2 separate regions of the Homo sapiens genome follow, and region 1 is linked to region 2. The links are contacts of gene promoters, found by promoter capture Hi-C in blood cells and fetal thymus (Javierre and others, 2016). All regions are on one chromosome and are shown on one strand. The core of a region is centred on a gene start or on the middle of the fragment in contact, and the rest is flanking DNA. Distances in the headings are between cores, read along the strand shown. Region 1 overlaps UBE2R2 (ubiquitin conjugating enzyme E2 R2). Region 2 holds the start of MYORG (myogenesis regulating glycosidase).

The links. The method cuts DNA at HindIII sites, captures the fragments that hold promoters and counts their contacts. A CHiCAGO score of 5 or more calls a contact.
Region 1: a contact is called between a fragment that was not itself captured here and the fragment with the promoter of MYORG in region 2, in 1 of 17 cell types (naive CD8 T cells). The highest score is 5.4, in naive CD8 T cells.

What each region holds. Positions count from the first base shown.
Region 1 is chr9:33,819,164-33,825,804 of GRCh38, forward strand. The region is part of intron 1 of UBE2R2 (ubiquitin conjugating enzyme E2 R2); the gene reads left to right. Among named protein-coding and RNA genes, the nearest start is that of UBE2R2-AS1, 3.6 kb to the left of the region's middle. The HindIII fragment of the contact is 4,626 bases long and covers 1,453-6,078 here.
Region 2 is chr9:34,375,162-34,381,169 of GRCh38, forward strand. It overlaps MYORG (myogenesis regulating glycosidase), which reads right to left and starts at 1,737. Exons shown (of 2, transcript NM_020702.5): 1 at 1,632-1,737. SPMIP6 (sperm microtubule inner protein 6) reads right to left here. Exons shown (of 7, transcript NM_032596.4): 5 at 5,741-5,970; 6 at 4,485-4,571; 7 at 3,858-4,020. The coding sequence ends at 4,485. LOC124902144 (a long non-coding RNA gene) reads left to right here and starts at 5,739. Exons shown (of 2, transcript XR_007061464.1): 1 at 5,739-6,008. RefSeq lists enhancers at 504-1,085, 1,086-1,666, 5,652-6,008 and a silencer at 1,712-2,101. The HindIII fragment of the contact is 6,785 bases long and covers 193-6,008 here.

The DNA of each region.
Region 1 (6,641 bases), core at 2,516-5,015, 550 kb before region 2:
TTTGGAAGGGAGGGGTTATCTTGGCACAAGTTTTAAATGAGTATCTTAGTCATGTAGTTGTGATGTGTATTTTTAGGACTACCCAATTACTTAACTCTTGTTTTCTACCCTTCTAAAGGTGGAAACCTCAGTTTTATGCTTGAAATTAGGTCAACTTTGTAGGAAATGGGATTGATACAGGAATGTTTAATATTCACTACTGTATATAGTCACTGAGTACCTAGGAAAAGCACGTTTTTAGAATATTATGTAAGTGCGGTACCCCTACCAACTGTTAGGCTTCATCTTTTGTGGTCAGCCTACCCTATACTTTTCAGATGGAGGTATTTAAAATTACTAAGAAAACATGCAACTTATTAGTAACAAAGTGGAAAAGATATTGCTGTGTTTATGATGAAGCATATTCTCTGTTGTCAAATATAAATTTTTATGCATACTGGAAAAATTAGTTGTACAAAATTGAATGTATGTGATACCTTTCTTTTTTTTTTTTGAGACGGAGTCTCGCTCTGTCACCCTGGCTGGAGTGCAGTGGCGCGATCTCGCCTCACTGCAACCTCCGCCTCCCAGATTCAAGCTATTCTCCTGCCTCAGCCTCCCAAGCTGCTGGGACTACAGGCGCACGCCACCACGCCCAGCTAATTTTTGTATTTTTAGTAGAGATGGGGTTTCACCATATTGGCCAGGCCGGTCTCGAACTCCAGACCCTGTGATCAACCCGCCTCTGCCTCCCAAAGTGCTGGGATTACAGGCGTGAGCCACTGCGCCCGGCCATGATGCCTTTTCTGACAAAACATTGTTTAGCAAAATCTGCTGGCTAATGTTAGTGGAATAAAGTTTGATTTCCAAAAAGTGTCATTGTTTGGTACAACCGATATTTAAAATAAATAAATGGGTACTAGTTAGAATAATCTCACTCCAATAAAGTTAAAAACAAGAGCAAACAAAACAAAACAAAACAAAACTTGTACATGAGAGAAAATAATGGGTTGCAAGTTGTAATATTTGTGCATAAGTCTGGGAAAGGAGTGTGGAGAACCCTCTCTGAAATAGGAAGTATGGAAGGATTCCTTGTGTTAATACACTGATTTAAATTAAATGCTTCTGAACTTCAGTCCTTGTTTAAAAGAATGATTTAATCTCGTGCTTTGTGATGTTAGATTTCTTAAGCTTTGAGTGTTTTTACCTTTAATTCTGACATGTATGAAAATTTGTAAACAGGTTTTATGGTTTAGTCTTGTGTGAGAAGTTTGTTCGATTGTATTTTCGACTACTTTTTCCCTTATATGGCCTTTTATCCCATTAGTTGTTCATTAGAAAAAGGCAAATTTATGGTCATGAGCAGTTGACACTGGGGATATGTTTAAAACCATTGTTTTTATTTTACTGCTTTTGTCTTAAGACAAGGCTTTTAGTGTATTTCACTACAGCTGCAGTTGAAAGTTGGCACAAAGCTTTCCCTACCATATCACTCTTCTCCCTTATTAAATGTTAGTCCTTGAACATTTAGTATAATTTATTTTCAAGTTAAACTCTTTTCCCTTTTTGGCATAGTCATTCGTGAAGGCAGTGGGACTGCCAGTCATTCTTTACATTTTTCATACTGTAATTCCTTTAACTTTTATATATTAATAGGTTTCTAACTGATCTTTTTCACCCTGAAATAGTTGGCTCTTGTCTCTTACCCACAGGATCTGCATTGGAGATTTGTGAGACCTGTATTTCACAGAATTTTTTTATTCATCCTGCTTTCGCTTATTTAATATCGCCAATCCACGTGATTCTTAGTTTTGGGCCATATAGATGTAGGATGGGCAAAGATAGTTTCTTCTGTCCATTCTGAATACTATACAATCTTTTTTGGCCTTACTATCTTTTTGTGTAGTTTCTTATTTTGCTACCTAAGCAAGTCGGAATTTTATTGTTACTAGAAAAATAAATTGTGGATCAAGTCAGTAGCTAATGAAGACTTTTAACAAGTTCACCCCCTTTCTTTTGAAAGGAACTTTTTCAGGGTCTTTCTCTGTCACTTAGTTTGGGGTACAGTGGTGTGATCATGGCTCACTGCAGCTTCCACATCCTAGGCTCAAGCAGTCCTCCCACCTCAGCCCCCTGAGTAGCTGGGACTACAGGCATGACTACGCCCGGCTAATTTTTTTTTCTTCAGTATTGTTAAGTGAGGTAGGGTCTCACTATTTTGTCCAGGCTGGTCTCAAACTCCTGGGTTCAAAGGATCCTCCTTTCTCAGCCACCCAAAGTGCTGGTTTTACAGGCGTCAGCCACCATGCCCGGCTGGAACTATCTTTTCAAATAACTCCTGCTAAGGATTGTAGCTTAGTGTGGGTGCTTTAGTACTGAACCTCCTTGGAACTTTTGCATTATTTATCTAAAGCATTATAGCAGTGAGTCTAGAGCCAGAAAGAGTGCCTCTTTTATGATATGCATAACAAAAAAAAATTTTTTTTTTTTTTGAGATGGAGTCTCACTCTTTTGCCAGGCTGGAGTGCAGTGGCACGATCTCAGCTCACTGCAACCTCTGCCTCCTGGGTTCAAGCGATTCTCTTGCCTCAGCCTCCCGAGTAGCTGGGATTACCGGCGTGCGCCATGAAACCTGGCTAATTCTTTTTGTATTTTTAGTAGAGACAGGGTTTCACCATGTTGGCCAGGCTGGTCTTGAACCCCTGACCTTAAGTGATCTGCCCATCTCAGCCTCCCAAAATGTAATCCTAATTAGAGGCCTGAGCCACCACTCCTGGCCAACCTTTTATAGTTTTGATTTTATTAAATAATTTGATTGAGGTAATGAAATATAGATGTGTTCCATTTTTAGAAAACTCCAGTCTGATAATTTAGAAAGTATTTGTTGTATACTTAAAGTTTTCCTTATTAGGAACATCTTTATTAGACTCAACACTGACATATATATATATATATTTTTTTTTTTTGAGACTGAGTTTTGCTCTTATTGCCCAGGCTGGAGTGCAGTGGAGCGATCTCGGCTCACTGCAACCTCCGCCTCCTGGGTTCAAGCGATTCTTCTGCCTCAGCCTCCTGAGTAGCTGGGATTACAGGCATGCGCCACCATGCCCAGCTAATTCTGTATTTTTGGTAGAGACGAGGTTTCTCCATGTTGGTTAGGCTGGTCTCAAACTCCTGACCTCAGGTGATCCCGCTCACCTCAGCCTCCCAAAGTGCTGGGATTACAGGCCTGAGCCACCACACCTGGCCTACACTGACTTACATTAAAGAAACTCTTCAAAACCTTTTTTTTTTTTTTTTAAGAGATAGGGTCTCACTTTGTTGCCCAGGCTGGAGTGCAGTGGTGTGATCATAGCTCACTGCAGCCTGAAACACTTGGGCTCAAGGGATCCTCTTGCCTCACCCTCCTGAGTAGCTGGGACTGCAGGTGCATACCACACTCGTTTTAATTTAAAAAAAAAATTGTTTATGCAGAAAGGGTCTCATAGGCCAGGCTGGTCTCGAACTCCTGGCTTCAAACAATCCTCCCACCTTGGCCTCCCAAAGTGCTGGTGTTACAGATGTGAGCTACCACACCCAGCCAAATAATTTTTTTTTTAATAAGAGAATATGCATTATTTCCTATGCTTCATTTGTTTTGCAATGAATGAATCTATTTTCTGCCTTCCCTCTTCCCCCTAAAAAAACAAACCAGACTTAGCCTAGATCTGGCAATGTCATTTAGATATTTTATTTCTTTTTTTTCTTTTTCTTCTTCTTATTAATTTTTTTTTTTTTTTTTTAGCTGAGTCTCGCTCTGTTGCTCAGGCTGGACTGCAGTGGTGTGATTTCGGCTCACTGCAACCTTTACCTCCTGTGTTCAAGCAGTTCTCGTGCCTCAGCCTCCCAAGTAGCTGGGATTACAGGCGTGCACCACCATGCCTGGCTAATTTTTGTAATTTTTAGTAGAGATGGGGTTTTGCCATGTTGGCCAGGCTGGTCTTGAACTCCTGGCCTCAAGTGATCTGCCCACCTTGGCCTCCCAAAGTGCTGGGATTACAGATGTGAGCCAGTGTGCCCAGCCTATTATTATTATTTTAGAGACAGAGTCTCGCTATGTTGTCCAGGCTTGTCTTGAACTCCTGGGCTCAAGTAATCCTCCCGCCTCAGCCTCCCAAAGCACTGCGATTATAGGTCTGAACCATTGCACCCAGCCTATTTTATGACTCTTTAATTGGTAAAATATAGTTGAAAAAAAATTTTTTTTTTTCCTAGATGGAGTCTTGCTCTGTTGCGCAGGCTGAAGTGCAGTGGCGCGATCTTGGCTCACTGCAACCTCTGCCTCCCGGGTTCAAGCAGTTCTCCTGCCTTAGCCTCCCAAGTAGCTGGGATTACAGGTGCGTGCCAGCACGCCCGGTTAATTTTTGTATTTTTAGTGGAAACGGGGTTTCACCATGTTGTCCAGGCTGGTCTCAAACTCCTGACCTCAGATGATCTACCCGCCTTGGCCTCCCAAAGTGCTGGGATTACAGGCATGAGCCACCGCGCCTGGCTGAAAAAATTTTTTTAGGAAAATGATTGTTTGCCTTTTTGAGACAGGGATTCTTTTGAGAAATTGAAGAATTTTCTCAGAGAAAATGGGTACACGTAAACTAATTTTATGTATCTTTTTCAGAGGGTTTACTGCCGATGAGCTAAGAATCCTCTTGTAAGGTATTTGGATAGGCAACTTAAAGACAATTTTAAACAGCTCCTTTAAAATTATAAAACGAATGCTCTTTTATTCCCCCATTTCTCTCAGTTAACTTTGAAACTACCTCTTAGGGCATTTAGCTGTCTCTTTCTGGAAGATGAAGTTGTCTTGAGTACTGGGTGAACTAAGGTAACGTTATAAATGGAAACACAGTTAAGGTCTAAGGGTTTTGGAAACTAAATGAAGTTTCACTTTTTGTTGTTTCTCAGAACATTTTTCAAACCAAATATGATGCCTTAGTTTTTCATAGAATATGCTTTTATCCTGTTTAGTTGATTACAAGATGCATATTTTTCTACCTTTTAACTTCTTTTTGATTAAGAAATTTCTTAGATGGCCAGGTGTGGTGGCTCATTCCTGTAATCCCAGGACTTTGGGAGGCCGAGGCGGGTGGATCACCTGATGTCAGGAGTTCAAGACCAGCCTGGCCAACATGGTGAAACCCGGTCTCCACTAAAAATACACAAATTAGCTGGTGTGGGCCGGGCGCGGTAGCTCATGCCTGTAATCCTAGCACTTTGGGAGGCCGAGGCGGGCGGATCACGAGGTCAGGAGATGGAGATCATCCTGGCTAACGTGGTGAAACCCCATCTCTACTAAAAAAATACAAAAAAATTAGCCAGGCATGGTGGTAGGCACATGTAGTCCCAGCTACTTGGGAGGCTGAGGCAGGAGAATGGCGTGAACCCGGGAGGCGGAGCTTGCAGTGAACTGATATCGAGGCACTGCTCTCTAGCCTGGGCGAGAGAGCGAGGCTCTGTCTCAAAAAAAAAAAAAAAATTAGCGGGTGTGATGGTCCGCACCTGCAGTCCCAGCTACTTGGGAGGCTGAGGCAGGAGAATTGCTTGAACCCAAGAGGTGGAGGCTGCAGTGAGCCTAGATCATGCCAGTGTACTCCAGCCTGGGCAACAGAGTGAAGCTCTGTCTCAAAAAAAAAAAAAAAAAAAATTCTTGGAATCCATGAAGTCTTGTAATTGCCATCAGCCAAGTGGTACTTATAACCTAGTTGTGAGAGACCATTTCATTGAAATCTTTTGGTAAATTTTTTTTTAAATACCAGTTTCAATGTCATAGATTTGCTAAAATAAGGATTATTTCTTCCTGGATTGAAGGATTTAGGTCCTAATTAATACTCTGCGTTGATTCTCCTTTTTTCACCTTTTGTGTCAGGAAAAATTTTTATTGAGGACTCATTAAAGGAAAAGCAAATTGTAGGAAAAGTCACTTCCTTAAAGATAGTAAGTGAAAGTATTAGGACAATGATAACCTTAGAGCTTTTAAGAATGATCGGCCAGGCGGTCGCCTGTAATCCCAGCACTTTGGGAGGCAAACAACAAAAACAAAAAGAATGATCTTCATAAAAGCAAAGCTTTTTTTTTTTTTTTTTTTGAGACAGAGTCTCTGTTACCCAAGCTGGAGTGCAGTGGTACAATCTTGGCTCACTGCAGCCTCCATCTCCTGGGTCCAAGCAATTCTCCTCCTCAGCTTCCCGAGTAGCTGGGGCTACAGGCGTGTGCCACCATGCCAGACTAATTTTTGTATTTTTAGTAGAGATGGGGTTTCACCATGTTGGTCAGGGTGGTCTCAAACTCCTGACCTCAGGTAATCCACCCACCTCGGCCTCCCAAAGTGCTGGGATTACAGGCATGAGCCACCACACCTGTCCAAAAGCAAAGCTTTTAAAGCTTTAAGGCTAGTTAGACCATTTTTCAACATAATGATAAAATGTTCTGTTCCATCTTTCCAACTTAATGGTCAGTTGGAGACACGTGAGAGAAAGGAGACCATCCAGCAAATTAGGCTACCTCTGATAATCTAGTTATGGAAAAATAACAGTGAGGAAAAGGTATAAATTCAGAGTTTAGGACTACAGATTTCCATCTTGCTTAAAGATTATATTGAAAAGGTTTAATTCTTTTATGTTTCTGAA
Region 2 (6,008 bases), core at 487-2,986:
TGTCTCTAAGTCCCCAGGGACTTCCAAGGAGATGCCGGAAATACTCAGGTTTTTCACCTCCCCCATGCAAGAATGCAAGGTGTGGAGCAGAATTTGATCCTAAATGTCAATACACAGCTCCTCCCATAGGCACTTCCCACACGGTGCTAGCTCAGGGCCTCATTCTCAGTGCCCTCTGCCCCCAGCTGCCTAAGCTTGTCAGCCCTAGCTGGTCTGGAACAGACTCTTATTCCCTTTCTCTCAGTCTACAATGACTTAGCTTTCCTCCCCATTCCTATATAGATACAGCTTAGAAAACACCTCCTGGAAAATGCAGCCAGTGGCCTTTAGGTGATGCCCTCAAGCTGAGCAGAACCCAAAGAAGGCTTTAGGTGGCTCAGATCACACCTGTGAGTTTATATTCATTCATTCAAGATAACCAAAGCCCTATTCTGGGCACCAAGGAAATAAGGAGAGAGAGGGTCAGTATCTGAAGAGGAGAGAGACTTCCTCATCCTCAAAACTTTCATATGAAGTCAGCCTATCTCATGAGCCCTGGAGGCAGGAAGAGGCCACCAAGGTGGATTCAAAAGCCCTTTCCGACAGTTATGTTTTGAGAATCTTAATTTTCTGGGATCTGAAGTTCTTTGATGAAAGACAGAAGCCCACAGGCCTGGGCACCCACCCACCCCAGGCACCATGATAGTGTCCCAAATGTCACCACAGCATCCAGTTCTATCAACAATGTGGAACAGCAGACATAGCTGCAGTGTCCATTTTACAGGTGAGGAAACGTGGCCCAAACAGAAAAAGGAACTTGTCTGAAGTTAGCCAGGTATCAAGGCTGCCTGGATCTAAAATCCCAGCCCAGCTCTCCACAGTGTAAGTTTTAGGAGATGGGAGATAATGATCTGACCTGGCTGCCTGAATGCAGTAGCAGAAAGGAGCCCTGGGGCTGAGCTGGTGGGACCAGCTTCCATCAGATGGACATGGCATGGTGAGGCCTGTCTTTCCAAGGGCTGGTGCTGCTGCTTGCTCCACGCGGACCACGAAGACCACGAGGGCAGCAAAGAGGGCAATTTTAATGGCATCTGGTACCGGGGCTTTGGGGGAGGAAGTCTGTGGTTCCGGTGTTAACAGTGGTGCCAGAGACCTCTGTAATCTGCCGCCTCCGCCAGGTGGAGTCTGGGCTCTGCCCCTGCTGAGCCTCTCCCCACCGGACACTCAACCTCAGCCTTGGCTGCCACAGCTAGTCTGGTCTGAGGGGGAGGGCCCCGCCCGACTCAACTGAGGGGAGGCCATTCCAAGTAGAATCGTTAGTTGGACACAGTTCCCGGGGGGATGGAAATGTCAAAGGCAACTCGATCCGGCCCATCTCCCTCTCCTGCCAGGCGACGGTATCCGCGGGGATCGAGTGACTGCCTACATAGCCTGGAATACTCCACAGCCGCCCTCCCTACCCCGCCCTGAAGGCTATACTGTCCGAAGGGGCCGACCGAGGTCAAGGGACCTGTCGCCCCGCGGGAATCGCGGCCGTGGGATGGGCCCAGGTGTTCAGGCTCGCTCCACCCATTCATCGGTGGGAGCGAAAGTTCAGGAATCGTGCTCCTTCAGCAGCCCCCCGCCCCCCACAGCCCTCCCGCTGGGCTCACCCATTGCAGTTACAGCCCGGCAGAAGCGGGGGTGAAAGAGCTTCCCGCCGATCCCCTGCGCTTGAACCAGAGTGAAGCTGCCGCCGCGCCGCGCGGGGCTCTGTCTGGCAGGGCACAGCCCCTCCTCGGGTCCCGCCCTGGGGTTCCTCGGCCACGCCCCAGTCATCCAGTCTCGTCTCGGGCCTCAGAGTCCAGCCCTGCCCTTGACGTTCGACCCCTCCTCCCAGGTTATCAGGCGGATCTGTGGCCCCGCCCCTCAGCCCCACCTTCCTCCCACCGCTCTGTGCTCTGCCCCTGGCATTTCAGGCTTGCTCAGTCCTGCGCCCCGCGGCTCCGACTCCCGCCGGCGGGCCCGCCCCTCCTGGGCCACTGCTAACCCGCAAGCGGGCGGGGCTCGGCCCCAGGCCTGCTGGGACATGTAGTTCTGCAGAAAGGAGCAGCTGCGGAAGGTTGGGGTTCTTGCACCTCTAGGCTAGGTTTGGAATGAGGATGAGAGGGAGAGAGCTGCAGGGTAAAGGAGCAGAGCTGGCCATTGGAATTCCTTCCTTCCCGGTTTGGACAGGTGGAGGCCATATCGGTATAACGCTCTCACAAGCCCTCAGCTTTCCATACGGAAAAGTGGTGGCGGAATTCCGCGAGTATCTCAGCTCCCAATGCAGGTGCTTCCAATCGAGGGCCCCACGGAGGGAGCTGTAGTTCCAACCCGCCGCGAGTCCAAGCTGTCGGTTCCCACCGGACCAAACCAGCGGTGTCCGAGGTCAGGGACTGAGAAGACCGGTTTCTGCTCGGTGTTTTGCAACGTCACCCGCCTCCCAGACCGCTACCCCCAGACTAGTTATTTATAGGGTCCAGCCCCTCCTCCTAAGTTACAGCCTTTAGTTAGAAATGCCCAAGCTGCGGGAAAGTGGGTGTGCCCCGCCATGCCCCTCTCCCCGGGGGCTGGGCAAGACTCTGAGGTTTCATTTCTTTTTTATTTTATTTTATTTTTATATTTATTTATTTTTGAGTTTCGTTCTTGTTGCCCAGGCTGGAGTACAATGGCACGATCTCAGCTCACTGCAAACTCCGCCTCCCGGGTTCAAGCAATTCTCCTGCCTCAGCCTCCCAAGTAGCTGGGATTACAGGCACGCACCACCGCGCCTGGCTAATTTTGTATTTTTAGTAGAGACAGAGTTTCACCATGTTGGTCAGGCTGGTCTCAAACTCCTGACCTCAGGTGATCTACCTGCCTCGGCCTCCCAAAGTGCTGGGATTACAAGTGTGGGCCACCGCGTCCGGTCTTTATTTTTTTGAGAGAGGGTCTCGCTCTGTCGCCCAGGCTGGAGTGCAGTGGCGTTAACATAGCTCACTGCAGCCTCAATGTCCTTGGTTCAAGCTATCCCCTCCCGCCTCAGGCTCCTGAGTAACTTGGACCACATGTGTGTGCCACCATACCCTGCTAATTTTTAAATTTTTTTGTAGAGAAGGGGTCTCTTTATGTTGCCCCAGCTGGTATCGAATTCCTGGGCTCAAGTGATCCTCCTGCCTCTGCCTCCCAAAGTGGTGAGATTACAGGTGTGAGCCTCTGCACCCAGCTGGTTTCATATCTATTTGATGCAGAAATAAAAATACTGAAGATCACAGAGATTTTAGAATGGCCCCTTCTCGCTCCCTGAGGGGCAGAGAAACAGGGCTTTGTTTTGCAACTTGAAATTTCTTTGTCATGAGACCCTCCAAAATTATGTTTTGACCAGTTGGACTTGGAATGGGGGACACACCTTGTGCAGCAAGGGTGTCTGAGCACAGAGAGGCTTTTGGGAGGCTGTGATGGGGACTCCTGGAAGCAGAGATCAAGAGCTTTGGGTGTAGGGATAGGTCTTTGACTGTGGAAGGAAGGATTCTGGGTCCTCTGATGAGTGGGAGGGCATCTAAGTTTGGGAGCATACTGAAGAAATGTTAGCTGGAGGGTCTTCGTGGGGTGGAAAGTAGATGGCTCCTGCCTGCATTGCAGGGTGGACCCATCCGTTTGGGCTCTGGGATTCAGGGGAGGAGGATAGCAGCTGGATATAAGGCTACTGTTCTGTGTCAGGAGGGCACTCAGGGATGTACTGAGATGATGGGGTTGGAAGGGCCCAGGGAAGGGTGACTTTGAGAAAAATTGCATCTCAGTTGAAGGGGTTTGATAGAGGCCTGAGTGACTGGCCCTTCACTTCCAGATCCTGCTGGGTAAGGACACAGGAGGCAGGCTTTGGGGTTGAAGAGTTTATTTATTGCTCTGCCCCCTTGGCACAGCAAGCCCAGGCTCTACCAGCAACGATAGTCGGGATAGGTCTCAGACACAAACTCAGGATGGATAACATAGTTGTTTCTCTGGGGACCACCAGACTTCTTGAAGTGACTTGTGTCCCATCTACAGGAAGAGATGGGTCAGCCGTTTTGGATCCTCATATGTCAAAGTGAATATCTGACTCCAGTTTGCAATGCTAACCTTATCCCTACACTTTGTCTATAGCACTGACCTTGGGTTCCAATACTGACCTCCTGACCTTAGGTTCTACTGTTAAGTTGCTGATACCCAATATTTCCTCCTTAACATCGACTTCTTACTCATTACTTCAAGCTCTGAACCAACGCCTTTGGCTGTAAGCCCACTGCCAACCTGTAACCCTTCAATACCGGCCTCCTAGCCCTCTCTTAAGGTCCTCTGTCCTTACCACCTTTGACTGCTCCATGCCACTAGCTCCCCCTCGTGGTATGTGCCTGTCAGTGCACCGCGGAGCGTTCTCATCCCGTCTACCAGACATCCTCCCCCAGCCCCGCCTCACCAAGCCTTCAGGGTGCGTGTGCAAATGAGTGTGTGCGCGTTAGACTTACCTAAGGTTCGGATATGGGTAGTATGACGGCGGGGGAGTTGTAACAGCACACTGCATTCCGGGCCGGTGCTCGTAGGGAGGTACACATCTGGAGAAGGAGGAAGCCGCGAGCATGGAGGGGTTGGGCCTTTTGACTCTCATCCCCCGATTTAGACCAAGCCCCTGGGCGGCGCTTCAGGTGTCCGTCCCAAGGCTCGGAAATCCTCCTCTCCTTCTTCCTCACCCTTCAAAACCCCCACTGCAGCACCGATTCGGGAACCCCCCTTGGAAGACTCCCTCCCGGCAAGGCCTCATTTCTGCCGTTGAGGAAAGAGCGCTGGACCCTGGGGAAGGTCGGGCTCCGGGCGTTGAGGACCTGGAACCACCGGATCCCCGCCACTGGACAGCAATTTCTCCAGCAGTAGGACGAGGCATCATTTCTGAGCTTCCTAGAGGCTCAGACACTTTCCCACTCCCCTATGCCCTTGAGAGGGATAAGACTCAGTCTTGCACAATGAATCAGGCTCTCTCGGCCTGGAGAGGGGCGGGGGATCACTATGGACCCCCACTGCACAGCTCTCTGGGCTACCGCGGACAAAGTTCTCCCAGGCTTGGCTGCCGCCGCGTGCAGGACGAATGCCGAGCTGCAGTCTGGGCTCCAGCTGTGCGCTCGGGCCTCAGTTTTCTTAGCAGTAACACGCGAGGGTGCCTACCTCCGCAGGTGGTGCGGGATCCGAGGAGGCCAGAGCCATTCTGGTAAAGTGGTCACCATTTCCCGGCTCACGTAGCCCCCAGGAATGACCGCACCCACTACCGACGGTGACGGGGGACCAGCAAGAGAGGACATTTTTCTGAGAACGCAGGGCACTCCACAGGCTAGAACCTGCGTCTCTAGGGCCAGGAGTCCAGGAAAGGGGGCAGGGCCAAGGAGATGGGGGAAGAGGATGCGACTGATGTGCGGGGTTTCTTCCTCAAAAACCCTCTGACGGGACCTCCAGAGCATATAGAGAGGCCAGGTTGACCTTGAGCCCAGTTTGAGAGGGACAGGGGTCGGGGACTTGGAGTAACCTTCGTGCTGGTTCTCCCGCCTCAGTTGTTAGTTCAGGCCTTGGAGCCCGAGGGCGGGACACGGCAGGGCCTCGAGAGCGTGCAGCGCGGGGCTAGAGCAGGCTGGGGGCCTGCACGGAAGCTGGCCGGGCTGGAAGGGGGCGGGGTTCTGGGGCGGGGCTTGTGTGGGGTGGAGCCCGGCTGAGGCGGGCGGAGCCCTGCGAACCTTACAGTCGGTTGCTCCCGGCACCAAGGCCGCAGGCGGCGGTCGGTGCAGGGCGCCCCGCTGGCGTAGTAGTCCATCCCGCGCAGACAGTAGTGGCGGCCCGAGCAAGCACTTTCGTAACCATGGAAGGGCAGGCGGCCGGGCAGCGGGTCCACGCACCCGCATCGGGGCGTGATCCGCGGCAGCTGCTGGTTCCGCGACAGTGAGTTCAGCATGTTCACCATCACTTCGCGCTCTGCTCCCGCGGGTCCCCAGCGCAGGAGACCCAAAGAC